3 separate regions of the Homo sapiens genome follow, and regions 1 and 3 are each linked to region 2. The links are contacts of gene promoters, found by promoter capture Hi-C in human tissues and cell types (Jung and others, 2019). All regions are on one chromosome and are shown on one strand. Each heading gives the region's core, a stretch centred on a gene start or on the middle of the fragment in contact. The rest is flanking DNA. Distances are from core to core; before and after follow the strand shown. Region 1 holds the start of MTHFD1L (methylenetetrahydrofolate dehydrogenase (NADP+ dependent) 1 like). Region 2 holds the start of ULBP3 (UL16 binding protein 3). Region 3 overlaps PLEKHG1 (pleckstrin homology and RhoGEF domain containing G1).

Region 1 (4,404 bases), core at 1,579-4,078, 800 kb after region 2:
AAAGTGGGGCTTCATCCTTGACAACTTCCTTCCATATACCCTCTAAATCAATCAAATCCTAAAGGCTACCAATGGTTCCTCTTACTTATCTCATGAATCCATCCACTTTTCACCAATCCATTGGTCAAGGATATACTCAGGAACTTCTCGTTTCTTCTCCTGTTACTGAAACAGTCTTCGGATTTGTCTGCTGCCTTCACTTTCTATTGTCTACGCTGTCGCTGCTGTGATCCTTCTACAACACACATCTGAGATTGCCACTCTCCTAATTCTAAATCCTTCAGTTGTTTTCCACTGCTTTCAAAATGCAATGCAATGGGCTGGGCGCAGAGGCTCACTCCTGTAATCCCAACACTTTGGGAGGAGGCCGAGGAGGGCAAATCACCTGAGGTCAGGAATTTGAGAGCAGCTTGGCCAAGATGGCGAAACCCTGTCTCTGCCAAAAACACAAAATTAGCCAGGCATGGTGGTTGGCTGTAATCCCTGCTACTTGGGAGGCTGAGGCAGGAGAATTGCTTGAACCTGGGAGTGGAGGCTGCAGTGAGACAAGATTGCGCCACTGCACTCCAGCCTGGGCAATAAAGCTAGATTCCATCTCAAAAAAAAAAAAAAAATGCAATGCAATGGTTTCGTGACCTGCCACAACGTGGCCCTGCCCAGCTCTTCTTACTTGCCATTGCTACTCATTTTCCCCTGCCCTCCCCACTCGACTGAACAGCTCTCAGTATCTCAAATTCATCATGCTCTCTTCTACTCCAGACTTTTGCTCATGTTGTTCCTTCATTTCCAACATTCCCACTTTTCCAACACTGACCTTCCCTTAGCTCATTTCCTTCCCTTAGCTGACCTTCCCTTAGCTCAACTGCTAAGGTCTTGCCTCCAGCTGCCACCTCTTTCACTTTCTTCAGGAAGCCTTTTTTTTTTTTTTTTTTTTTTTTTGAGACAGGGTCTCACTCTGTTGCCCAGGTTGGAGTGCAGTGACACGCTCACAGCTCATTGCAGCCTCAATCTCCCAGCTCTGCCAGTAAACAGATGGGCCTCTCTGGACCCCAGTTTCCAAAGGTTGAAGGTCAAGACAATAGCTCTCAATTCCCTACTTTTGTTAGGATTGTATGAAGGGTCCTTCCAGCACTGTCCCAGTATGGTGCTCGGCTAATGGAAAACCAATCTCTGTAACTTGGACTAGTTTTATTCCCACCTTATCTGGGAATTATAAGGGTATAAGGTTGTAAAAATATAAAGTTAACAATCTGACCCTCACTTGGGAATCATAAAATTACAATCTGATATCCACTTTACTTGGAACTTATGGTCAGCCCTCTGTATCCTCAATCAACCTGGGACTGAAAGTATTTGAAAAAATTACAATAACAAAAAATAATAAAAAATCATAGAAATAAAAAAGTACAGTGTAATATCTATTTACATAGCATTTACATTGTATTAGGTATTATAAGTACAGCAGGTCCTGGAATAACATCATTTCATCATTTTGCTCAGTGGTTTTCTTATAATGATGAGAAAAAAATAGATTTCTGGCTGGGTCCACTGTCACGTTTTATCCATGTCTGTGTGGATTTTCTCTGTCTTCTGGTGTCCTGTCACATCCCAAAGCCGTGCAGTGCACTTTAGGTAAATTGGTGCATCTACACGATCCGAGTGTGAGTGTGGGTGTGTGTGAGCACACCCTGTGAGGTGCCCTGAGTTGGAATAAGCCGGTAAAAATGATCTCACTTTTATTAATCTTTATTTTTCTCTAAGCGAGAGGGATAGGGGGTGTTTAAAAAAAACTTTTTCTTTGAGACAGAGCTGTGCTCTGTCGCCCAGGCTAGAGTACAGTGACATGATCTCGGCTCACTGCAACCTCTGGCTCCTGGGTTCAAGCGATTCTCCTGCCTCAGCCTCCCGAGTAGCTGAGAATACAGGCACGCGCCACCACACCCAGCCAATTTTCTGTATTTTTAGTAGAGATGGGGTTTCGCCATGTTGGCCAAGCTGGTCTTGAACTTCTGGCCTCACGTGATCTGCCCACCTCAGCCTCCCAAAGTGTTGGGATTATAGGCGTGAGCTAAAAATCTTCCTTAAATATATGCATGGCTCACACTTATTTCAATGTTTAATATTAGAAGTGTTTTGGTCTTTATTTCGAAGTTTAGGGGCGATTTTGTGACCACAGATATGTTGTAGGAACTTCACTCATATCAATTAGCCTGTGGTCAAACTGTTTTCCTTACAGTCATTTGGCTTAAAGTTTCAGTTTCCAAGAACCCCTCCACGATGTTAGGTGAGGACTTAGGGAATGTGGAGATGACCTAAAGTTTATGATGGGAAGATGTGTGTAGGTGATATGCAAACACTTTTTTTTTTTTTTTTTTTTACCAAGGACTTGAGCATTTGTGGACGTGGGTCCCCTGGAGGGGCCCTGGAACCAATCAGGACTATAAAATCCTTTTAAGGTTTTAAGAAGAGCATTGTTATCTCTGTGGTACTGACGAAGACCCCGCAAGCTCACCGAGATTAAGTGCCCCTGCCTAAGGTTACAAAGCCTCTTATCCTCAGGCCACCTCCAGTACAGCAAATCCAAGCCCTCCCGTCTAAACTTGGCGCCCTGAGTACCAAGGGTCACCTCGGCCTTTCAGGCTGAAGGGAGGGAGGCTGAGTCTCAGGGCAGAGTCTGAGTCCCACTCCGCACCCCACCCTCTGTCTGGTACAGCTTACCAAACCAAAGTGCCCAAAGCCGTGACATCCCGGCCGGCGGCTCGCAGGCCCCCGCCCTCCGCACGTCACGGCCGCCGGGTGCAGTGCCCCCTAGGGGCCCCTGGGACGAGGAGGAAGCGCCAGGTCCTTCCCGCCGCCGCCGCCGCCGCCGCCGCCTGCTCCCCTGGCACGCGCCCCGCCGCCCTCGGCAGCCGCAGCTCCGTGTCCCCTGAGAACCAGCCGTCCCGCGCCATGGGCACGCGTCTGCCGCTCGTCCTGCGCCAGCTCCGCCGCCCGCCCCAGCCCCCGGGCCCTCCGCGCCGCCTCCGTGTGCCCTGTCGCGCTAGCAGCGGCGGCGGCGGAGGCGGCGGCGGTGGCCGGGAGGGCCTGCTTGGACAGCGGCGGCCGCAGGATGGCCAGGCCCGGAGCAGCTGCAGCCCCGGCGGCCGAACGCCCGCGGCGCGGGACTCCATCGTCAGGTGAGTGTCGGGTCTGGCCCTGGCCCAGGTCTCCAGCGGCTGTGGCCCCGACCCAGGGGCGGAGCGCCCGGGACCGCCGTGGGGAGCGGGGCGCGGGGCTGCGAGTGTTTGGTGCCAACTCATTAGGGGGGCCGGGCGGTGTGTCGGGAAACGCGGGCTTGGGCACTGCGGCCGGGAGCGCTGGCGGAGAACGGGGGATCCAGTACCCGACCGGGCCCGCAGCGCAGGTGGGCGTGGGCATCTCCAATGGGCGCCTAGCGGCATGGACCGCACGCCCGGCTCCACGTGCGCAGCCGGCCGCCGGCTCTGATGCAATCGCGCCGGGCGCGACCCAGACGGTAAAGGGGCGGTGCGGCTGGGGCGGAAACCAGGGGAGGGGGCGAGGAGCAGGAGGAGGGCGGGGCTGCGGCTCGGCGCGCCGGCTGGCCCGGGGTTCGGGAAGGGCAAGCGGAGCTCGGGAGAGGCGGGCTCGGGCCCAGCGCCGCCCGCGCGAAGCTCCCTGGTGTTGTGCGCCCTTCCCCGCGCGCGGCCCCTCCTGCTGGGCTGGGGTCTGTGGCTGACGTCCGCTTTTCCCGGAACGGCAAAGGTGGAGCCGGGCCCCCGGGACAGCCGCCGGGGGGAATCCGAGAGGTCTCAGCGCTGGTTTCCAGCTTCGCCGCGCAGCGCCCACGGAGTCCCCGCGCAGCTGGGTTTGCAGGGTTTTCTGCGGGCCCAGAGCGAACTGGGAGCCCCGGGCCCGGCCTTTCCCGTCCCGGTCCCCGCCCCTGGGCTCCAGCCTTCCCCGCCCTCGCCCAGAGGGGCGCACGGGTCTCGGGCCTTGCAGGGCGAGCCCTTCGGGACAACTTGGGGGTGGCAAGAAAGCCCCTTCCGCCTCCCTCGGAACTGGGATTAGGAACGAGTTCCAGGATGCGGTTTCCCCGGCCAGCGGACCACCTCCTCCATTCACATCCTCTTCCCTTTCCTTCTAGCCTTCTTTCTTAGTCATTGCCTGCTTGCCTTTCTCTCTGCCTTTCCTTCCTCCCTCTGCTCTCCCATTTTCCTCCCCACTCCCCTTCTCCCATCTCAGTAAAATACGTTTCCTAGGCTCTTTATTATGTGGCGGATGATTTTAAGGGGCCATTTATTTAGTTTTTCTTGTTCTCTGTCTTCTTTTTCTTTTAGAAATGGAGTCTCGCTTTGTTGCTCAGGCTGGAGTTCAGTGGTGCCATCTCGGCTCAATGCAGCCTCC
Region 2 (4,442 bases), core at 111-2,610:
ATCCCAGAAGCATGTGTGGTTGGAAAAGGTGCTATGTGGATTTCATGGCTATTCCCAACCACAGAATCCAACAGGGTCCCCTAGTGCTCAGAAGCAAAGCTGTGCCACTCACAGCAGTGAAATCCCCTCATTTAAAAGTGGCTCCTGCTGTGGTCCTGGGCCCCTGTGGAGATGGGCCTCCAGCTATGGGAGGGCAGTGACCACACAGCCTCAGAGCTGCCCATCACAGGGTGTGCTCCTCACCCTTTAGGTCATTAGGAAGATAGGCCCCACAGTGAGAAGACACAGGTGGGTCTCCTGGGATGGGCAGGAGCAGGGCCACAGGGAACCAAGAAGCTGCACAAGCAGTTGGCTCTGATCCCCAGGACACCACATGGCTACACCCCCCCACCCTCAGGTCACACCTGAGGCTTCAGGGAGGGTCCCTGAATGGCCCCTGGGGACCGTTAATGCTACTCAGCAACAAAGGAGGGGAGCAGTAGGCCCCGAACCATGGGACTCCCCCTCACATTCATCACATCCACACCTCCCAGAAGCCACAGGCAGGGTAGGACACACTTGTGACTCTTCAACTTACACAACTTAGAGATGACACCCTAGGGGATGGGGCAGCAATTGCCAGGACACAGCATGTGCCCTCATCTGGAGTCTGCAACCTAGGACAGGGTCCATTTCAGGTTTCTCTTTTACTTGCAGGTTGCCATTGCCTGCTGTTGCTCTACAAAGGGACGGGACTTGACACAGAGACAGAGAACTCACGGCCAGCAAGGACCAAAGTGCCTTCAGCCTTTCCTTTCTAGAAAGGGTTTGCTGACTCCTGTCTGCTTAGTGACTATTCTATATGACGCTGGCGTCACCCATGTCTTGACCCCAGCTCGGGTTCCGGGGGCTCTGGTTTCTCCTTCCCGAGGACGAGTGGGGCTGCGGGGTTGCACCAGGGATCCCCTCCCCACCTCGCCCTCTGCAGCTTTTTGGCCCCTCCACCCTCCTGCGGTTCTTTTTTCGCCTTCTTTGACCCCCCTCCTGCTCTGCAGGGCAAGCAGCAGCCGCAGGAAGCGGACCTGGCGAAAAAGAGCAGCGAATCGGAACTGAGCGTGGGGGCAGTCCGGGGAGATCGCGCCGGTCCTTCTAGAAGGCTTCCCTCCTCTGAAACCCGCTGCAGTCCACAGCCCCCCAGGTTTGGCCCCCGCCCCGCTTAGGCTCCATCCCCGAACTCACCGGCCCGCCCCGTCCCGGACCAGTCGAATAGCAGGTACGGAAGAATCGCGAGGCGCGGAAGGATCGCGGGGCTGGCGGCCGCTGCCATTGTAGACCAGGAGCGCCCGGGACACAAGGCGCAGTCGATGTGGAGACCAGCGTATGAATCACTTCGGCCCTCGCATGCCAGCTAGTGATTGAGTGTGCTCGGCCCCGTCCGGTCCCGTCCCGCCCCGGGATCCAGGGGAGCCTACGCCTGCCCACGTTTGGAGGGATGCTCCGCCCTATCCCGCCCCGTCCCGCCCTTCCCCGCCCCACCCCAGGCTGGGACCCGGGGAGCCTATGCCTGCTGTGGCTCCGCTTCGTCCCGCCCCGGGCTCGTGGCCTGACAGCGGCCCCCTCTGGCCAACCCTTACCCTCCACCCCAGGCTCCGCGCGGGCCAGGACACGATTCCTTCTTGACCGCCTCATTTAATTTTTTAACACACCATTTATTATTACCCCAATGTAAGCACTGATGCACAGGAAAGCGAAGAAACTTGCACAGGGATATCCAGTGGCGGCTGTGTCCCCCCGTCACTGCCTCCGCCAGCGACACCTGCCCTCCTTCAGCCTGCGCCAAGGAGTCCCCGCCCCTCTCCGTCCAGGGCGCAGCTGCTTCCCAGTCCGGAGCAGACCTTCTTTGCCTCTCCACTAAAAGCATGAGGAATATATAGAATATATATAGAATAAAGTATATTCTATATCCCTTTATGACTTCTGGGAAAAAAAAGAAAGAAAAGAAAGCCCTAGTGGCCTACCGTGATCAGTGATCAAATGATCAATTGTGTTTCCATGGAGAGCAGAAGCCGAGGGAGGGTCTACGCATGCGTGGGGCTCACTTTGCTGTACACCCATCTGTGGCCAGCTACACGCAAATCCATGGCTGCACGCGCATCTCTGCCCTGTCCCTGGATGGTGACTGCAGCCATCCTCAAAGCGGCAACCCGAGTGTATCCTCGTCTCAGTCACCATGGAAACATCTAGATCTGTGGGCAGAAGCCAGAGGGAGGTGATGGGCCCAGTGGCCCTTGGCCGCAAGGGAGGGCTTTAGCCTGGGATGAGGAGTGGACAGAGATCTTGAGTGCCACTCAGGCCCCAGCCACTCAGCCCATTCCCTATTGAATGAGAAAAATCGGCACAGACCTCCCACTCCGTACAGTCTTCATGTTGGGATCACCTGCACCTGGTGATCATCAATCCCGAGGGTCCTGAGGCTGTGGGAAAGAGGAGGAGGCCTGGACAAAGCCCAGGGCCTGTTTCTGCTTCAGGACAGAGTCATGGGAGGGCAGCCACCTCTGTGACTGAGCAGGGACACAGGAGCCTAGAAGATTCTGGCCTGATGCACTAGAGCCCCTGTGCAGGAGGGGCCATGTGGAGGGTAGTTTGGAGGACAACAGACACACAAGGGTGGGCAGTTCTCAGATTTGGGAGGGGCAGAGCTTGGCGGGTCCCAGGATCTGTGTGTGAGAAGAGCCTCCCATGTACAGGGCTGGGGGCAGGAGCCCAGGTTAGTCCTGGGAGGAGGCCTCTGGGAAGGCCCTGGCAGCACCACCCCGAGGCCAGGTGACCTGGGCCAGTGACTGGGGGAACAGGAGGAAGGTAGAAGGAGGCTGGCAGGAGAGCCCCAAGCAGGACAGGAGGAGGGGCTTTTGTGCACACCTGGGCCCTCCTGACTCACCCCTGCTGCAGGCATCTGGCCAACAGACTCAGGCCTGCCCAGGATGGGGATAGAAGTGGCCCAAATGTTATTGTAATGGCCGGGATCTAGAGATCATGCATTCAGATATGGAAGTCAGCTGATATTGTGGCTGAATATTCCTGTGCAAGCTTCTTCAGCTTTCTAGGAATGGATGTCTGCATGTGGAAAATGACAAATGCTATGAACACAGATGAAATGAGCAGATTCTACAAGGAACCCTGTCCTTGCACATGCTAAGGACCCAGGGCAGGTCTCCTATTTCAGTTGTGAGGCCTCCAGCTCTCCCTGAAGTCAGCAACTGCCAGGCCCACCCTGAGGAGAGCTGGATCTCTGAGCCCAGGCCATGGCCTCTTCATGGCCCTGGGGGCGCTGTGATGGGGAGGAAATGAAAACAAGACCCACCATCAAGACTCAGGCATGTTTTTCAGACCCACAGAGGATGATTTTTCTCTCCATCACCTGGTGAGCCTGACGTGATGTAAGGGTGGTTGGAAGCTGAGTGAACCAGTGAATGAATGAGACAGTTGTGGGAGTGAATGGGACTCAGAAGAATAGCACAGGTTCAGAGGGGAGCTGGAGCGGAGGTTGTAACCCCCAGCGGCCTGAAGGTGGCAGCATCGAGGTTGGTAATTTTTTTTTTTTTTTGCCTTTTTTAGTTGTTGGGTTTTATTTGTTGTTTTCCGGTTTGTTTGTTTTTGAGACAGTCTCACTCTGTCGCCCAGACTGGAGTGCAATGGGACGATCTCAGCTCACTACAATCTCTGCCACCCGGGTTCAAGCGATTCTCTTCCCTCAGCCTCCCGAGTAGCTGGGATTAGAGGCACCTGCCACCACCCCCGGCTAATTTTTGCAATTTTAATAGAGACAGGGTCTCACCGTGTTGGCCAGGCTGATCTCGAACTCCCGGCCTCAGGTGATCTGCCTGCCTCGGCCTCCCAAAGTGTTGGGATTACAGGCGTGAGCCACTTCGCCTGGCCCCAACTTGGAAATTTGAATCTCCACCTGGGTGTCCACAAAGATTTTCCAAGGAAGAGTAACTTTGGTTTTCAACCAGTCTGGGGGGTGCTTCATCAGGATAGAATCTTCTAGAAAACATAGTGTGATGACGGACAGCAAACTGCTGTCTTCAGTTGGTTTGACTGAGCCTAGAGTGCACCAGGGCCAGGAAAATCTTGTCTTTTTCTTGCCTTTTTTTTTTTTTGAGACGTTGTCTCATACTATCGCCCGGGCTGGTGTGCAGTGGTGTGATCTAGGCTCGCTGCAACCTCCGCCTCCCGGGTTCAAGCGATTTTCCTGCCTCAGCCTCCTGAGTGGCTAGGATTACAGGCATCCCCACCATGCCCGGCTAGTTTTTTGTATTTTTAGTCGAGATGGGGTTTCACTATGTTGGCTAGGCTGGTCTCGAACTCCTGATCTCATGATCCGCCCGCCTTGGCCTCCCAAAGTGCTGGTATTACAGGCGTGAGCCACCGCGCATGGCTGAAATACTTGCCTTTTAAGCAAA
Region 3 (4,652 bases), core at 1,713-4,212, 710 kb after region 2:
TGTCTGATTTTAGACATTCAATTGTTTCTTAGGAGATTAAAATCATCTAAGCTCTCTCCTTCCCTCAGAAGATCAGAGTAAAACTTTCCTTTTTCCTTCAACTCTTTTCTTTATTCAGTATACCTATGTTGAGTCATTACTCTGTATGAAACCCTGGACTAGTCTAATAGTGTAAGGATGAATGACACCATTGTACAACAGAGGCAATAAGCCACATAATCAAGGAAGGAACAGAATGCTTTGTGAATGCTGAGGAATGTGCAATTAATTTTGTCTGAGGGGGACTTTACAGAGCAACTAACACATGTCTGAAGACAAAAGAAATTCTTTGGGCCACGCTTTTTCTTCTCCTTGCAATGTAATTTAAGTAGTGAAATCATGGGATTCGTACAACAGCAAGGCAAAGGAAGGTGGAATCGTTTTCTTTTTTAGTGCATTTTCATACCACCAAAATGTCTGACTTCTGCACAATGGTAGAGATATTTTTACCCACGCTTTTTTCAACTGGACTTTTCCAGGCCAGTGCCTGGAAAGTATGAGTGAAATTATTGGAGTAATTTCTCTTCCATGCATATGTGTCTCTGTGGATGCAGTGGGTTAAAATGCCAGCTGATTAGGCAACGGGAAAGGGAAGTGCTGCTCAGACCGGAAGGGGAGGGGCCGCATCCTCGAATCTCTCTCAGTGTAAAGCAATAGAAGGTTCAAGGTCATAATACAATTCCTGCCTCAAAGTTCGCATCAGGGGTCAGAAAAGCTTCACATGGGATATGTTCTGTAAAAGAGAACAGTGTTTCCTCTCATTTCCCACCCAACTAAGGGACCTGAGCTCAAGTAGGAAATTTTATAATTGTTTTAACCGTCCTACTCAAAAAGAAGAAAATATTTAAAATACTCAAGGAAACGAGAAAAGATCCAAATCCTGAAGGCAAGATGACTCTAATTTAGCTTAGAATACAAAACACAATCTGTGAGTTATTTCTTACTCCTAGTGTACATGTGCGGTTGCACATCAGCCACACTGATGCAATCCTGGTGCACATGTGCAGTTGCACATTACTCACACTGATGCAATCCTGGTGCACATGTGCAGTTGCACATTACTCACACTGATGCAATCCTGGCGTACATGTGCAGTTGCACATCAGCCACACTGATGCAATCCTGGTGCACATGTGTGGTTGCACATTACTCACACTGATGCAATCCTGGTGCACATGTGCAGTTGCACATTACTCACACTGATGCAGTCCTGGTGCACATGTGCGGTTGCACATTACACTGATGCAATCCTGGTGCACGTGTGGTTGCACATTACTCACACTGATGCAATCCTGGCGTACATGTGCGGTTGCACATCAGCCACACTGATGCAATCCTGGTGCACATGTGCAGTTGCACATTACTCACACTGATGCAATCCTGGTGCACATGTGCGGTTGCACATTACTCACACTGTTGCAATCCTGGCGTACATGTGCGGTTGCACATCAGCCACACTGATGCAATCCTGGTGCACATGTGTGGTTGCACATTACTCACACTGATGCAATCCTGGTGCACATGTGCGGTTTCACATCAGCCACACTGATGCAATCCTGGTGCACATGTGCGGCTGCACATCAGCCACACTGAGGCAATCCTGGTGCACATGTGCAGTTGCACATTACTCACACTGATGCAGTCCTGGTGCACATGTGCAGTTGCACATTACACTGATGCAATCCTGGTGCACATGTGCGGTTGCACATCAGTCACACTGATGCAATCCTGGTGCACATGTGCAGTTGCACATTACTCACACTGATGCAATCCTGGCGTACATGTGCGGTTGCACATCAGCCACACTGATGCAATCCTGGTGCACATGTGTGGTTGCACATTACTCAACACTAATGCAATCCTGGTGCACATGTGCGGTTGCACATCAGCCACACTGATGCAATCCTGGTGCACATGTGCAGTTGCACATTACTCACACTGATGCAGTCCTGGTGCACATGTGCGGTTGCACATTACACTGATGCAATCCTGGTGCACATGTGTGGTTGCACATTACTCACACTGATGCAATCCTGGTGCACATGTGCGGTTGCACATCAGCCACACTGATGCAATCCTGGTGCACATGTGCAGTTGCACATTACTCACACTGATGCAATCCTGGTGCACATGTGCGGTTGCACATTACTCACACTGATGCAATCCTGGTGTACATGTGCGGTTGCACATCAGCCACACTGATGCAATCCTGGTGCACATGTGTGGTTGCACATTACTCACACTGATGCAATCCTGGTGCACATGTGCAGTTGCACATTACTCACACTGATGCAGTCCTGGTGCACATGTGCGGTTGCACATTACACTGATGCAATCCTGGTGCACGTGTGGTTGCACACTACTCACACTGATGCAATCCTGGTGCACATGTGCGGTTGCACATCAGCCACACTGATGCAATCCTGGTGCACATGTGCTGTTGCACGTTAGTTACACTGATTCAATGAGAAATCCGTAGTCTCCACCCCCGAGGCTGTAACTGTAGAATCATCCCGTGTCTGGTATTTAGGAGTGTCTTCAGTGGCTGATGCACTGCATTCCAGGCCCCGACTGTGCTCCCATTGTACTTTGCGTGTTTGCATATCTTTTATAGCGAGATGTCTTCCTCTATCCCACCACACTCTCTGTTGCCCACCAAATTCCAGCCACTGTGGCTTCCTTTGTATACCTCACAGGAGAACCCACCAAGCTCATTCTATCCTGGTTTGCAATTCCATTCTTTTTTTTGAGACGGAGTCTCACTCTGTTGTCCAGGCTGGAGTACAGTAATGCAATCTAGGCTCAGTGTATCCTCCGCCTCCCAGGTTTAAGCAATCCTCCCTCCTCAACCTCCCAAGTAGCTGGAATTACAGGCGCTCACCATCACGCCTGGCTAATTTTTGTATTTTTAGTAGAGAGGGGGCTTCACCATGTTGGCCAGGTTGGTCTCAAACTCCTGGCCTCAGGTGATCCGCCCGCCTCAGCCTCCCAAAGTGTTGGTATTATAGGCATGAGCCACTGTACCCAGCCTGCAATCACATTCTTAAATGACTTTCTCTTCCAAGACTTCCTGCACTCAAATATCACCTCCTCAGAGAACCTTCCCTGACTGTCCCAACCTTCTTTCACCCTCGCCCAGCCTCAGTTGCTCTCTATCGTACTACCCTCTATTTCCTTCATATCACATAATACAATGTGATATTATGTTGTTTATTCACACTTATTAGTACTTTTCACCCCTGGTCAGATCATAAACACATGGGACAGGGCCTTTGTCCACCTTCTTTACCCCTGTAACCTTCTTGCCTGACATCCAGTCTTTTAGCAATTGCTTATTGAATAGCAAGCAGACAAAGTGGATAGGAACAGCTTCATGGGGATGATAGCCCCAGTGACAAGAGGATGAGAGAAATGCCATTACTTTCTCTTTACTAGTACCATTTTTATTGTGTTTATCCTGTTCTAGAAAAAGGTTGTAAAGGAAAGCTGACCAGGTAACTCAAACAAGACTTGTCTAGTAGGCAGTACCATGTTGAAGATATGACAGTGTGGAGTCTGGCCCTCAGCTTTGAGTGGAACAGCAAACAAATCTTTCAATAGATGTGTTTCTAAGAGAGTGCAGGACTGGGATTCAGAAGGCCTGAATCTAACCATGACTGTGGCCATGCATTATTGGCAGTGTGACCTAAGGTAAGCTACATCCTTTAATAAGCCATGGTTTCCTCACCTTAAAATTAGGGATCGGAACTGAAGGTATCTGAGTGCCCTCCCAGCTCTGTGGTTCTTGAGTGCCAGGCATTCATTCACAGATGAGGTACACCTGGAGCCTGGCTGGGTCCCCGAGACACTTCCTCCTACCAGGAAGTCCACTCGTGAGATGAAACTAAAGCTTGGAGGCAATCCGAACATACAATTTAAAACACAGGGGGTTAAATATTGTCAAGAAGTTTTTTTTTTTTTTTTTTTGAGACAGAGTCTCGTTCTGTCGCCTAGGCTGGAGTGCAATGGCGCGATCTCAGCTCTCTGCAACTTCTGCCTCTTGGGTTCACGTGATTCTCCTGCCTCAGTCTCCCGAGTAGCTGGGCTTACAGGCACCTGCCACCACACTCAGCTAATTTATGTATTTTTAGTGGAGACAGGGTTTCACCATGTTAGTCAGGTTGGTCTCAAACTCCTGACCTCAGGTGATCCGCCCGCCTCGGCCTCCTAAAGTGCTAAGATTACAGGCATGAGCCACCATGCCTGGCCTGCCAAGAAGTGTTTCTGTTGTGCTATGAGAAATAACAAGGCCGGGCGTGGTGGCTCACGCCCGTATTCCCAGCACTTTGGGAGGCCGAGGCTGGCAGATCATGAGATCAGGAGATCAAGACCATCCTGGCTAACACAGTGAAACCCTGTCTCTACTAAAAATACAAAAAATTAGTCAGGCATGGTGACACGTGCCTGTAGTCCCAGCTACTCAGGAGGCTGAGGGAGAATTGCTTGAACCCAGAAGGTGGAGGTTGCAGTGAGCCGAGATCACACTACTGCACACCAGCCTGGGTGACAGAGCGAGACTCCGTCTCAAAAAAAAAAGAAAGAAATAACATGATGGAGTCCGCTCACAGTTCTTC

The links. Contacts are between HindIII fragments. The study calls those that stand out against the background at their distance.
Region 1: a contact is called between the fragment with the promoter of MTHFD1L here and the fragment with the promoter of ULBP3 in region 2, in 1 of the 25 tissues and cell types used here (adrenal gland).
Region 3: a fragment that was not itself captured here is called in contact with the fragment with the promoter of ULBP3 in region 2 in 1 of the 25 tissues and cell types used here (H1 embryonic stem cells).

The regions. Positions count from the first base shown.
Region 1 is chr6:150,862,874-150,867,277 of GRCh38, forward strand. MTHFD1L (methylenetetrahydrofolate dehydrogenase (NADP+ dependent) 1 like) reads left to right here and starts at 2,829. Exons shown (of 28, transcript NM_015440.5): 1 at 2,829-3,176. The coding sequence starts at 2,950. RefSeq lists silencers at 2,671-2,900, 2,961-3,370, 3,531-3,730, 3,851-4,000. The HindIII fragment of the contact is 14,014 bases long and covers 1-4,404 here.
Region 2 is chr6:150,067,761-150,072,202 of GRCh38, forward strand. It overlaps ULBP3 (UL16 binding protein 3), which reads right to left and starts at 1,361. Exons shown (of 5, transcript NM_024518.3): 1 at 1,219-1,361. The coding sequence starts at 1,306. It overlaps LOC124901428 (a long non-coding RNA gene), which reads right to left and starts at 2,513. Exons shown (of 2, transcript XR_007059809.1): 1 at 1,998-2,513; 2 at 1,668-1,890. RefSeq lists enhancers at 1,036-1,085, 1,106-1,185, 2,383-3,250. The HindIII fragment of the contact is 17,553 bases long and covers 1-4,442 here.
Region 3 is chr6:150,775,359-150,780,010 of GRCh38, forward strand. All of the region lies in intron 4 of PLEKHG1 (pleckstrin homology and RhoGEF domain containing G1), which reads left to right. Among named protein-coding and RNA genes, the nearest start is that of MTHFD1L, 88 kb to the right of the region's middle. The HindIII fragment of the contact is 6,386 bases long and covers 1-4,652 here.